Linked DNA regions of Homo sapiens: region 1 is linked to region 2. The links are contacts of gene promoters, found by promoter capture Hi-C in blood cells and fetal thymus (Javierre and others, 2016). All regions are on one chromosome and are shown on one strand. The core of a region is centred on a gene start or on the middle of the fragment in contact, and the rest is flanking DNA. Distances in the headings are between cores, read along the strand shown.

The links. The method cuts DNA at HindIII sites, captures the fragments that hold promoters and counts their contacts. A CHiCAGO score of 5 or more calls a contact.
Region 1: a contact is called between a fragment that was not itself captured here and the fragment with the promoter of POMT1 in region 2, in 3 of 17 cell types (total CD8 T cells, M2 macrophages and non-activated CD4 T cells). The highest score is 5.8, in total CD8 T cells.

Annotation. Positions count from the first base shown.
Region 1 is chr9:131,142,066-131,148,829 of GRCh38, reverse strand. NUP214 (nucleoporin 214) reads right to left here. Exons shown (of 36, transcript NM_005085.4): 12 at 4,076-4,550; 13 at 2,526-2,701; 14 at 1,246-1,340. Among named protein-coding and RNA genes, the nearest start is that of NUP214, 20 kb to the right of the region's middle. RefSeq lists an enhancer at 4,102-4,603. The HindIII fragment of the contact is 1,959 bases long and covers 3,485-5,443 here.
Region 2 is chr9:131,498,543-131,504,798 of GRCh38, reverse strand. It overlaps POMT1 (protein O-mannosyltransferase 1), which reads right to left and starts at 1,881. Exons shown (of 20, transcript NM_001077365.2): 1 at 1,726-1,881; 2 at 459-610. The coding sequence starts at 580. PRRC2B (proline rich coiled-coil 2B) reads right to left here. Exons shown (of 32, transcript NM_013318.4): 32 at 4,606-6,256. It also overlaps the pseudogene LOC124902290. RefSeq lists enhancers at 291-360, 371-450, 931-990, 362-1,227, 1,228-2,095 and 1 more and silencers at 1,561-1,710, 1,781-1,980. The HindIII fragment of the contact is 12,581 bases long and covers 1-3,695 here.

The sequences.
Region 1 (6,764 bases), core at 3,215-5,714, 360 kb after region 2:
ACAGTGAGAACATATTTGCACTGTATGTGTGTGCGTGTGTGTGTGTATTCAAGGAACTCACTCTTAAAAATCAGAAGGAAAAAGCCAGACAATCCAACAGAAAAACAGAATAAAGACATGAACAGACACAACATAAAAGAAAATATTCAAATGGCCAATAATCATCTTTTAAAAAGCTTAATTTTGCTAATCATTAGAGAAATACAAATTAAAACCACAAAACCATACAACAAAAGATGAAAAATACCAAGAGTGGCAAGTATGTGGAGCAGCCAGAAGTCTCATACACTCTTGGTGGGAATCTACTAATGAGGAATACATGCAGATTCTATGACCCAGCAATCTCACTCATAGGGATACACCCAAGAGAAACTTGCATATGTGTTCATTGAAGATGTCAACTGGAACGGTCATAGCAGTGCTACATACAATGGCTTAAACCTGGAAACTACTCAAGCGCCCATCAGAGTGGAACAAATAGTTGTAATATAATCACACAATAAATTCCATACAACGACATGGATAAATCTCACAAACATAATGTTGAACAAAGCAGCCAGATACAAGAATACATACTGTACAAATCCACTTGATAGGAGGTACAGGCAGGCTAACCTCATCTATGCTGTTGGAAATCAAATCAGCTACTCTTTGGCAAGAGTAGTGACTAGAAGGGGACAGGTGAAAAAGAACTCTGGGGTTCTGGCCTCCGCCTCCCGGGTTCAAGTGATTCTCATGCCTCAGCCTCCTCAGGAGCTGGGACTACAAGTACGTGCCACCACGCCCGGCTAATTTTTGCGTTTTTAGTAGAGACGGGGTTTCACCATGTCGACCAGGCTAGTCTCGAACTACTGGCCTCAGGTGATCCGCCCGCCTTGGCCTCCCAAAGTGCTGGGATTACAGGCATGACCCACTGTGCCCAGCCAGGTTCTCGTAAAATTCTGTTTCTTGATCTGGATGCTAGTTACCAAGGTATGTTCAGTTGTTGACAATTCACTGAGCTGTACATGTATCATGTGTACTTTTTTCTATTTGTATTATACATGAATAAAAAATTAAAATAGCTAAATGGCTTTTACGAGTATACAAGTATTCAAACCTCGCACTTTGGTATTTACTATCACATAGTCCCAATTACTATGTCCAAGGTCTGAATTATAAAACATGAAAACTCATTTTATTCATAGGTATGCTTGGGGCAGTAAATTAATAAACACAAACATTGCAAGCTGAATTTAAACATACCTGGGGAGAGCCTGGCTTTGCCGCTGGAGGGGTTATCCTGGGTGATTTCTGTACCATTGAGGGCACTGGGCTTGAACTGCCCTGAGCAGATCGTCCTGCTTGAAAAAGAAGTCAGTTAAAATAGATGGCATTTATTACCTTTATTTCTCCTATCACAAATGTCCTTTCTCCAAATCTAAGAAATTAAGTTACACATTGCCCCTGGCCCACTTTCATGATTTATTTTAAAGAGTGATGACCACCAGTTGTGCTAGCCTCTGTTCTAAGATAATGAAAAAAATATATTAAAATTTTAGGAGCCAGGTATGGTGGCTCAAACCTGTAATCCTAGCCTTTTGGGAGGCTGAGGCAGGAGGATTGCTTGAGCCCAGGAGTTTGAGACCAGCCTGAGCAACATGGCAAGACTTTGTCTCTACAAAAAAATTTAAAAATTAGCCGACGGTGGTGGTACATGCCTGTAGTCCCAGCTACTCAGGAGGCTAAGGTGGGAAGATCGCTTGAGCCCAGGAGGTAGAGGCTGCAGTGATGTGCTTGGGTGAGAGAGTGAGAGGGTCTCAAAAAACAAAACAAAACTTCCTGTTTACAGTATGACTGACTGTGAAAATATGAATATAATCACTGCAGGTACTCTCTCCTCTGTACTTTTTTTTTTTTTTGAGACAGAGTCTCGCTCTGTCGCCAGGCTGGAGAGCAGTGGCGTGATCTCGACTCCCTGCAATCTCTGCCTCCTAGGTTCAAGTGATTCTCCCGCCTCAGCCTCCTGAGTAGCTGGGATTACAGGCACCCACCACCACACCTGGCTAATTTTTGTATTTTTAGTAGAGATGGGGTTTTGCCATGTTGGCCAGGCTGGTCTCGAACTCCTAACCTCCGGTGATCCACCTGCCTTGGCCTCCCAAAGTGCTGGGTTTATAGGCGTGAGCCACCGCACCCCGCCAAACAACTCTTGTGCCTGTGCTTCTTAAAGAACTGTTATGTAACTGCTCTTCATGGAGGGCAGGCTCCATATGAAAATAAATGCCCAAGAGCAAGGCATTTTTGACTCATTAAATACACTTAGCTCCATAAGAAGTGTCAGAGAGAAGAGTGGCAGCATTTAAGCAAGAGCAAATCTCCCAATTCAGAGTATGAAAATCACAGCACATTAATCATTAATGTATGATACAGGAAGCAAGAAAAAATAACCTTGTCCAACTATGTTAGCTACGACTCTTAACACTTAAAACCGTTAATCTGAGAAGGCAGGGCTGAGGTCTAAAGTTGTCTGCTTAAAATCATACCTGATGGTGAGGGCAAGACTGAGGACTTCAATGGCACGGAACTAGGTGGTGCTGAGAGAGGTGTGGGGTGGCTGAGTGGTCCAGAAGCAGCTGGCTTGGAGGCAGAAGAGAATGGCGACATCGGGGGTGCGCTCTGGGAGCTACTAACAGGAGTAGAGGTAGCTGCAGCAGTAAACCTGAAAAATGGCAGCCTGAAGGCCTCAGAAGAGCCTGCTAGAAGATTCTTTTACACTAGCATGAGCAATGTCATCAAAAGATAACTTATTATCTTTTATGTTAACTTACAAAGATAACATACTTTTTGCCTTCAGGAAACAAAAATGTTTAGCTATTTCTTATAAAAGGTGAAAGCTGCAAGGAAACATTTATCTTTTCGTCTGCTTATTTAGGAATTAATTATTCAGGGGAAATATCAAAACTAAGTTTATCACAATATGAAATACCAAGTTTATCATGATATGAAATACTATTGTTTCCAGCTGAGTTTTAAACAGGAGGTGGGACACAATTATGCTTAGGAGAGTTAGTACTTTCTCTTACCAAGGAAATTACTGAGAACTCGTTTTGAGAGTGAGCACCTTCTCTGGGGAGTGAAAAAGGAAGAGGAATGCAGGGAACTGTCTTTGGGATACTTATGGCCTAAAGGAAATGTAAAGTCGGTTCCACCTAAAGAGCAAAAGTCTGTAGACAATCTAAACTCCAGCATTAGATGACTGGTCAGATAAACTGTGGTGCAGTCAACAAAATGGAACACTATGCAACCCTTAGCATGAAGTGGATGTGTGCCAATTCAGTATTAACAGTAACTGTGGTGGCAGCAGCACCACCATAGCAACAACAGATAGTACAGGCAAGTAGGGAAAAAGCTGGTAGTACTTATACTCGATGGTTATCTTGGGAACTCATGGTTATCTTGGGAGGGGTTACAAGATATAAGGGATTGCTTCCCTCCAAAAGCTTACATTCTAGTGGGAAGAAAAGAACAAGATAAAGAAGTAAATAAATAAGAAATGAGTGAGCTGCCCGACCCAGATCTGGAGGAAACTGGATACCAACCTAAGAATTAGCAGTGAGCAGCCACGGGGCTTCATAGGGACTGTCAAGCAGAAGAATCACCTAACAATTTACAGTGTCACAAGATGACTTTGTGGCTGTGTAGACAGCAGTTCAGAGAGAGTTAAGGGTAGACACAGGGAGGAAAAAAGACTACAAGGGATTCATTTCCCTTCCAGGATGCATACTCTGGATTGCTTCTTTTTTTAAAATAAGGAATATTTCCTACATTTGTAACGTAAAAAAGCAAAACAAATACCTGAATATAAATCCCATAGTCAAAAAAATAAAATGCTAGCTAAGAGACCCTTCTGGACTCTATTCACTGATGAAATGCCAGTATTTTATGTTGGTTGAATTTTTGCCATTTGCAAGTATCACTCTGGGTAAAAAAATTCTACTCAGTTAACTCCTCTCAGAGTGACTCTACTTTTAGTAAATAACATCCAATATTTCTACCCAACTCACAGAAGAATCAAACTTTAGAAGTGACTTACTTTTCACTAAGGTTGACTTTGACAGCAGAGGTTGAGGGTGGGAAGGAGGGCTTCATTGCTATATTTGGAGCAGACACACTTGGCACTGGTGTGCTTTCCAGGGTAGGCTTAAAACCAGATGATCCAAAGGAGAATGAAGCAGCTGATGGAGCCACAGGAGACGCTGCAGGGGTGGGGGCTAGGGAGGCTTTAGAAGGGGGAACAAAAGAGAAGGTTGATGGGCCAGGGCCTGGGGCTGCTTTGGAGCTGTCGGAGCCACTGGAATATGAAGGGGGCTCCCCAGTGACCGTAGCAGATGACTTCAAAGATGAAGAACCAAAGGAGAACACAGTGGGGGCTCCACCAGCAGGAAGCAAAGAAAAAGTGGCAATGGGAGCAGCAGGTGATGAAGGTGGCAGAGAGGCAGGGGCTGCAGCTGCAGAAGCATCCAGTTTCTGTGGGGCTTGAGAGGAGGTTGGGGTAGTGGGAGTACTTCCTGCAGTGACAAAAAAAGGAAGGAAAATGTTAACACTGTAACAGTGGAGGTTCACATAATAGAAAGCAAGTGAAAAAGAATTTGTGGTAGAATAAAGCCAGAAATGTTACTAGTTTAAGAAGCAAAAAGAACACATGGGTACACAGTTCATGTTGGAGTTTTCAGGTCTCATGAGATAAATGAAACTGAAGGAAAACTAAGGAAAGACATTAGAATAATTGGACTTCATGGACTTCTCAGTGCTACTATGGCACACAAAACAGTTCAGTCACTGCAACATTTCATTAACAACCAGGAAAAAGTTTTAATTCAGACCTCCACCTTATTTCACTAAAAGTAATTCCAGATAAATACACATAGAAAGTCACATAAATACAGGTATCTCAAAACAAAGGAGGCAAATTGATAGATATGTTAGGTCTCAGAATCTAACACCTTGATAAATTTAGAAGTGACCAAAAAAAAAACAATCGCAAAGGGAGAAGGTTAAGATTTGTGTAAAAAATAGCTACTCAGGTACAATAACTAAATGGTAATGAACTAAAAAAAAAGATCCATAGCAAATGACAAATAAGATGTTTTCTATTTTTTAAAAAGCTCATACAAATTGAGATTTTAAAATTTCAGGACTAATAAACAGGGAAACTAACTCACATAAAGAAAACACATTCAATCTCTCTAATCAAAGAAATATAAACAAGGTACATTTTTAATTTGTCCTCTAAATTATAAGAATTTAAATATGTCTAACCCCTTATGTTTGGATGGGTAAAACAAACCTGAAACTTTTTATCACTGGTAGGTAACTAGTATTTTTTTTAAGAAAACATTTTGGCATTGTATAAAAAACTGTAAAAAACAGACCCAGTAATTTCTCTTCTAAGAATAAAGCTTACAAACATAATGCAAAAAATGAAAAAGATATTTAATGCAATCCAAATGGTTAAAAAGAAAAAAAAAAGTCAATGGAAGGCTGGGCGCAGTGGCTCATGCCTGTAATCCCAGAGCTTTGGGAGGGCAAAGCAGGAGGACCCTTTGAGTCCAGGAGTTTGAGACCAGCCTGGGGAACAAAGTGAGACCCTGTTGCTACAAAAAAAATACAAAAATCAGCCAGGTGTGATGGCTTGTGCCTGTAGTCCCAGCTACTTGGGAGGCTGAGGTGGGAGGATCGCTTGGACTTGGGAGACAGAGGCTGCAGTGAGCCAAGATCCTGCCACTACACTCCAGCCTGCACAACAGAGTGAGACCCCTGTCTCAAAAATGAATAATTTTTTTTTCTATTTTCCAAACTTTCCATAAGGTAAAAATATTAATCTTTAAATTAAATAACCAACTAAATAAGAAAAGAATTCTTTGTGTCAATATTTTCTATTTATATTAATAGGACTTGGTTGTTCCAAATTAGCTAAGATGGCAGTTTATCTTCATGGAAGACACTTTGTCTAATGCAACGTAATACTTAGATACAAGTATGAAAATACCACTTTCTGAAAACAAAAATCCAAGTAAACTGTCACATTGATGAAAGTATAATAATGCAAGCAAACCTATTCTGTTAATACTTCTTTATACAATAGATATGGAACCAGCTACAACTAACTTCTGTAAAGACATACATAGATGTTAAAACACTTTCATGCATATTAGGTAAACTGACATGAAAAATATATACCAGACCCTAAATAAATCAAAAGCATTTTTTCCACTGAAAACAGAACTGATTATTGGAAAACCATCATGCTACTACTACTTCTGATCAATACAGCATCCTTAGAACTGCAGTGTAGAAACAGGTGGAACCATTAATGTCTTCTGAACCCATGAAGTAGGCTTTAGCTAGACTTAGCTGATGGGACGGACTTTCTCCCCGCAGGGGCTCTCTTCTACACATCTGAACACAACTATAACCTCTGGACCAACTGTGAAGGAAGAGGGGAGTTTCTCTAGGAAAGGCTAACAGTAAAACTGGCCTCTGATTGTGCTCCAGCATTGAATGGGCTAGTAGCAAAGGCTCAGAAACAAACCTCGTCCCATCCCAGAGGCTCCTAATCTCACAGGCTGCTCTGCTTATTACAGACACACCAGGCAGCTGGGTATAGGTAGTTCATGGTACCCTTATTCATGGCTGAATAAGGAGGAAAAAAAAACAACACAAAGAGTACACACACTATGAATAATGGACTACCCTGATACAACACTCTGCAAGCCATCTGG
Region 2 (6,256 bases), core at 632-3,131:
TCAAAAACACACACACACACACACACACACACACACACACACATACACACATTAATCAGTTAATAAAGAGCCCTTCAATAATAACAGCAATCACTTCCCATTATGACAAAAACACATTCTAAAAAGTGCTCTCAACAGTGAAGACTTACTTCCAAATCCATTAATCCTCTGCCGTCCAGACTTTAAAACTGTTACTTAAGGCTGGCAACCAGATTTTCCTCTACTGCACCCCTTTAATGGGCCAAATTTCACCTGTTACAGACTCAGAAGGCAAGACCTAAAAGGTGTACTCTGCTGGGGCTGTCCTGGGGACAGACTGGTCTCTCCTCTCACTGCCAAAAACACCTATCACCAAGAAGCCAGGATTTCACTCTCCCATTTATGCTATTCAGTAAGGGCGCCTCCTGTCACAAAGTACAATTCTAGATTCACCCTGGGAATGGAGTCATTTAGCTTACACCACAGCCCGCGGGTAGGTGAGTCGCCACAGCCGGCTCAGTAACCCCATCCCAGTCAGGGCCACAAGGCTCAAGTTGATGTCAGCCGTCACCACTACAGGGCGCTTCAAAAATCCCCACATCTTGTAGAAAAGCGGGCTCAGGCAGACGCCCTAGAAAAGAAGGGAGGAGCCGTGGTCCATGAGGGCTCACGAGAGGCTACAGAAGGGATCCCCAGCCACCCGGCTCCCGGACACACGAGGAGAACCACAGCACAGCCGGGCTGCTGAGAAAGACCGAAGTTCCTGGAGCCTTGGTTCAGGTAGACATGTGGGGTGAGGGGCACTAGCAGTGAACTCGGGTGGGAATTCAGGGGATCTCAGGACTGGACATTCACTCCTTTCAACAACTCATTCCACAAAACCTGCCGAGCACGTCTTGGGCGCGAGAACACTGCTAAGGAACGCCAGGGTTTCTCCCCTCCCTCCCCGACGACCAGAAGCCCACAGTGCGGCCACAGCTACCTGACCCTGGGCAGCTCCTGGGTGCCATCTCAGCTGCTTACAGCCCAGGGACCCCAACCTGGCCGAGCCTCGGGGCCTCCTCATCTCTCCTCAAGGATGCATCTGCCCCCAGTGCCTCCCTGCCTTCTATCCCAGCGGCACATCATCCCCGGGTGCTCCCTTTCTCGCCTGGAGGGTGCATTTGCACCCTGCGCCCCCACGTTCTCCTCCAGGCTTCATCTTCCCTTGAGCTCCGCTTCTCTTGAGGCTGCATCAGGCCTGGGACACCCTGTCTCACACCAAAGCCGCATCTGGCCGTTGGCGCCCCGCTGGTCTCCTCAGGCCCCATCTACCCTGGACGCGCCCTTCCCTCCCTGAGCTGCATCTGCCTTGAGCGCCTTCGTCCCAAAAGGTCCCATCTGTCCTGGGAGTGCCTCCTCTCCCCTTGCAGACCGCATCTCCCTGGCCGGCCCTTCTTCCCCACAGGCCGCACCTGTCCCGTCCACCAACTCCCGAGGCTGCGTCGGCCCCAGCTCCGTCCTCACCCTGAGACTGCACCCGCAGCACGCCCTTCCTCCCTAGGGCTGCACGCGCCACGGAGTTCTTACTTCGGGGCTCGGCCGCCCGAACGCCGCATCTGCCCGGGCCCGAACCCCGCCCCCAGCTCCGGAAAGACGGGGACGCCCCCGGCCCCAGCCCGTCCGCAAGCCAGGGACCCGCGTCCGGCACTGACGGACTCCCCCAAGTCCGGGCTGGGCTCTCGTCCCCGGTGTCCCCAAATGTACCCGCGTTTCTCCGAGTCCACACAGAGCCGCGCCCGGCTCCCGGCAACGCCTCGGAACCGTCCGACTGGGCCGACGGTTGGGGGTGAGGCCGCTCGGCACTCCGCACCACCCACCGCCCTGCTCAACGTTCGATTCACCGAGCCTGCGGGGCCAGACGGGCAGCAGCGCGCGTGCGCACTGGGAGAGGGTGACGCGCGTGCGCAGCGGGCGAGGGCGCCGGTCCCGGAGGAGAGGCAGGTGTGAAACGCGGCGACCTCCCCTCTCTCGGGTGCTACTGTTTTGTGTGCCAGGATTTCTGTGTACTCTAAGCAGACGTGCAGATTTTAAAAAGCGCAGTGGGCTCCCACCCATCTTCTGCTCCTTGCTTTTTCACTCCATCTGGCGTGAAGATCTTAATTCTGCGTCTGCACAACGGCGTTCTGCCGGGCGCGCCAGTTTGCTCCTAGTTTTTTTCTTTTCTTTTCTTTTCTTTTTTTTTGAGACGGAGTTTCGCTCTTGTTGCCCAGGCTGGAGTGCAATGGCGCGATCTCGGCTCACCGCAACCTCCGCTTCCCGGGTTCAAGCGATTCTCCTGCCTCAGCCTCCCGAGTAGCTGAGATTGAAGGCGCACGCCACCACGCCCGGTTAATTTTTGTATTTGTAGTAGAGACAGGGTTTCACCATGTTGGCCAGGCTGGTCTCGAACTCCTGACCTGAAGTGATCCGCCCACCTCGGCCTCCCAAAGTGCTGGGATTACAGGCGTGAGCCACTGCGTCCGACCTTAATTTTTTTTTTAAGACACGGGGTCTCGCTCTGTCGCCCAGGCTGGAGTACAGTGGCAGGACCACGGCTTGCTGCAGCCTCGACCTCTCTGCCCGAAGCGATCCTCCCTCCTCGGCCTCCAGAGCAGCTGAGACCACAGGCACGTGCCCCCACGCCCGCGGGCGCTCCTAGTTTCCTTGCCGAAAAACATCGATGCCACGATCCTGCTTGCACATACATCTAGCGGTGAAGTGGCTGAGGGTAAGGGCATTTAAAACGGACCTAGGGCCGGGGGCGGTGGCTCACGCCTGTAACCCCAGCACTTTGGGTGGCCGAGGTGGGAGGATCCGTGAGCCCGCTTGAGTCCAGGAGAGCCTGGGCAACACAGCGAGACCCCGTCTCTACAAAAAAATACAAAAATTAGCGGGGCCCCTTGGCGTCTGCCTGCAGTCCCAGCTACAAGGGAGGCTGAGGCAGGAGATCACTTGGGGCAGAGAGGTCGAGGCTGCAGTGAGCCTTGGTCTCACCACTGCACTCCAGCCTGGACTACAAAGTGAGACCGTCTCAAAACAAAAAACAAAACCAAAAAAACCTGGACATCAGTGGGGGCTGCATGACCATCAGAGGCTCCAGTGGGGGCATCTCCCCTAAACTCCGTGGCAGAAGACTGGAGGCTTCTTCCTCCATTCCCAGGGCTCCTCCTCATCCATCAGCCTCTCCAGCCCCCTCTGCTGAGGGTCAAGAGCCTTCCCAAAGGCCTGCTTTGGAGCAGACATGGTACTTTTGGTTGGGTCAATGCACCCCTTCCCATGTTTTCCCTGAACAGTCGGCACCCAGAGCAGGGTAACTGACAGCAACGCAACCAGGCTGATGGATCACTCTTCTCAGCCTCGCTCCTTCTTGATCTCCTGGTCTATTTGTATGTTAATCTATACAGACCAAAAGGGCACACTGCAGGTTTAATAACCTTCATTATGGTTCTTGGCTGCCTGCAAGACTTTTTTTCCATGTTGGGCAACATAGCATTAGATGACACCAGTTAGAATTTCGTGGTTACTTCTTTATGGCTTACCCTTGAGGGGTTATGTGACTCACCCAAGATCCCACAGAGAGGCAAGGAGCTGGGGCTCACCTGGGTTTGTGGCCAGAGCCTGCAGGCAACTGTATTTACAGTGGGCAGGGAGGGTTCCCTGGGCCCCAGGAGGGAGTGGGGCTGGGCTGTTAAGCTTTGGTTCATGCCATGCTAACAGTGGTGGTGCCTCAGGACTTACAGCCTCCATCTTGCAAGCCCCCAACCTTAGGACTAGCCTCTTTCAGGGCTGGTCTCCGTTTGAGATTTTGTGAGCCACCTGTCCCTAGGGAGCAGTAAATCAGGGCAGTGAGTGTGGCTAGTTAAAGCTGAGATGCCCATGGCCAGGTCCCCAACTCTCTTCCATAGTCAAAAGGCTTAGAAGGAAGTTGAGGGACTGGGGTTCCTCATGGAAACAGCGTTTTATTTCTTGGGGGTAATTTATAAGTTTTCTTAGCTGGTTCTAGGCACTAAGCTAAAAGCTACTGGTGACTTTGAATCCACACTACGCCATGAGGTCGATACCATTACAATCTGTGTTTTATGATTAAGGAGACTGACTCAGGTGGTGAAACGTCTTTCCCCAGGTCAGTGAGGCAATGGCAAAACCGAGAACTGCTGCCTCAGCCCATTCTTACCTTTTACCCTTCGCTACCCCAGGCCTGGCTTGCTCCCTCCCCACCCCAAAGCACAGCATAATCCTCCTCCACTTCCTGCAAAAGCACCGCTAGAAGTGACAACACAACACGCCACATCAAATGCTTACCTCCTCTGACCAGCTCGTTTCTCACGGCAAGTGACGGGGCCACAGGCAGGCACTGTGCACAACCAGATGCCATCCGTGGGAAGAGGGTGGAGTGCTTGATGCTGCCGCATTTGGAAGATGCTTCTTAGCCACGGGTTTCAATCCCTTCTCTACCCACACAGCTTCTGTTAAGGCATTTCAGCCGTGCCACTCCTAATTTCCGTGTGAACTCTGTAAAATTAGAATTCTTTGATCTGTAGGTCTCTCTGGTCAAATGACCAAGAAACGAGGGATGTACAACCTGAGAAAGCACGTTCAGCTTTATCTTTTTAAACTTTTTTTATTTAAATAAGGAGAATTCTTTCATATGGAAAGAGCTAGTACAATCACATATTTGAAAGGAGAAACAATAGGTACTGAACCGGAGGGAAAGGGCGAGGGTGAGTGTGCCAGCACCGGCCTGGTGAATCCACGATTCGATTTCCCATCCAAGGTAAGTTTCCCAAAATACCGTATAAACAAGCTGCACATTACACCTCTAGCCATCGTCTGCCCTTTCAAATATCTGGTCTACATGGAAAGACAAAGAGGAAAGGCCAAAACATAAACAAAAGGAAACAAAAACAAAACACAACCCTCTCAGGAACCAAACAAAACCCCCAAATCCTTTTTTACTACACAAGGCATGAGGTCAAAAGCTTGAGTACAGTGTCCCCTTTAGATCACGGGAGAAAGGCGTCCACACAGAGCCTTAGCAGGAATTTCCACTCTGAGGCTTCAGAACATGCTGAAGATGGGGCTCTGAGGGTGCCACTACCATCCTGGAGGCCACCAAGTGGGGTGGAAACAGTGAAGAGCAGGTCTCACATGCCCGAAGACCACCAGCCAACTACACATTGGTGGCCCTGGTGGAGCATGGCTGGGCGACAGCGTCCATCCCCAACACTGAGCCACTCCTGTCCTGGATGACTTCCTGCTTAGGTCCGTCACATTTCAGAAGAGAGCTGGCTTTCTGGAAGCCTACGTTTCCCATTCATCACAGAACACGACAGAGTGCACACATCCTGGTATCCTTGGTCTTCAAAGGCCATTTCCAGCAGACCCTCTAACCCAGGCTTGTTCTGCAGGAAGTGAAAAGGGACAAATGAAGATTTGAGGGGCAGCCTGCAGCTACTTGGCACAGGGGAACCAAATGGCAAGGGAGAAGGCTCCACCAGAGCTGCCATGCTGCCGTAGCAGGCCAGACCACAGCATGGCTGTGCACCTGTGTGTGCTCAGCTTCCAGAAGCTGTCACTGACCATCGCGAAGGCAGATCCAGAAGATAGGAGGGTGACAGCACGGCTGGAGAGCACTGATGTCAACGTTTAACAAGGTTCCCCAGTGTCCCTAGAAGTGGCTGGAAGGACCACAGCTTTGGAACTGAACTGATTTTCTTGAATGTGAAATAAAGTCATCTTTTGTTTTCCCCCTTAAGGAACCTAGAGCCAGAGTGTCTATGAATTCCAAGTTTGAAAACAATATGAATGTTTAAAAAAAAACAAAAAACGCTGTGGGGAGAAGCCAACAGTTAAGAAAACCAAACCAAATGCAGCTGGCATTGAAGTCCCCAGTGGGTAGATGGGCATCTGAGATGTATACCCACACTCTGGACTTCATCCCACTCTAGTGGATGGTGGACAATACCGCAAGGCCACTGGTGGCTGAGCAACGAGCCGCATCCCCAGTGACCAAGGCAGAGCTGCCAGCGTCAGGAGGGCAACTTTAACAGGCAAAAGTGAGTGGGTTCTGACCCCCCAATCCCTACCTCAGCAGCAGGAAAGGGAAGTGCTGGTCTCCACCTGTTCCCACTAAGGCCCCGTGGTATCCTGGCAGAAGCCTCTGCATGTATCTGCGCTCTGAGGATGGGGGTTTGAAAACAAAATAAGACCCTACGTCCTACTACCTTGAGCTTGGCTCTAAAACCACGGGAAAGGA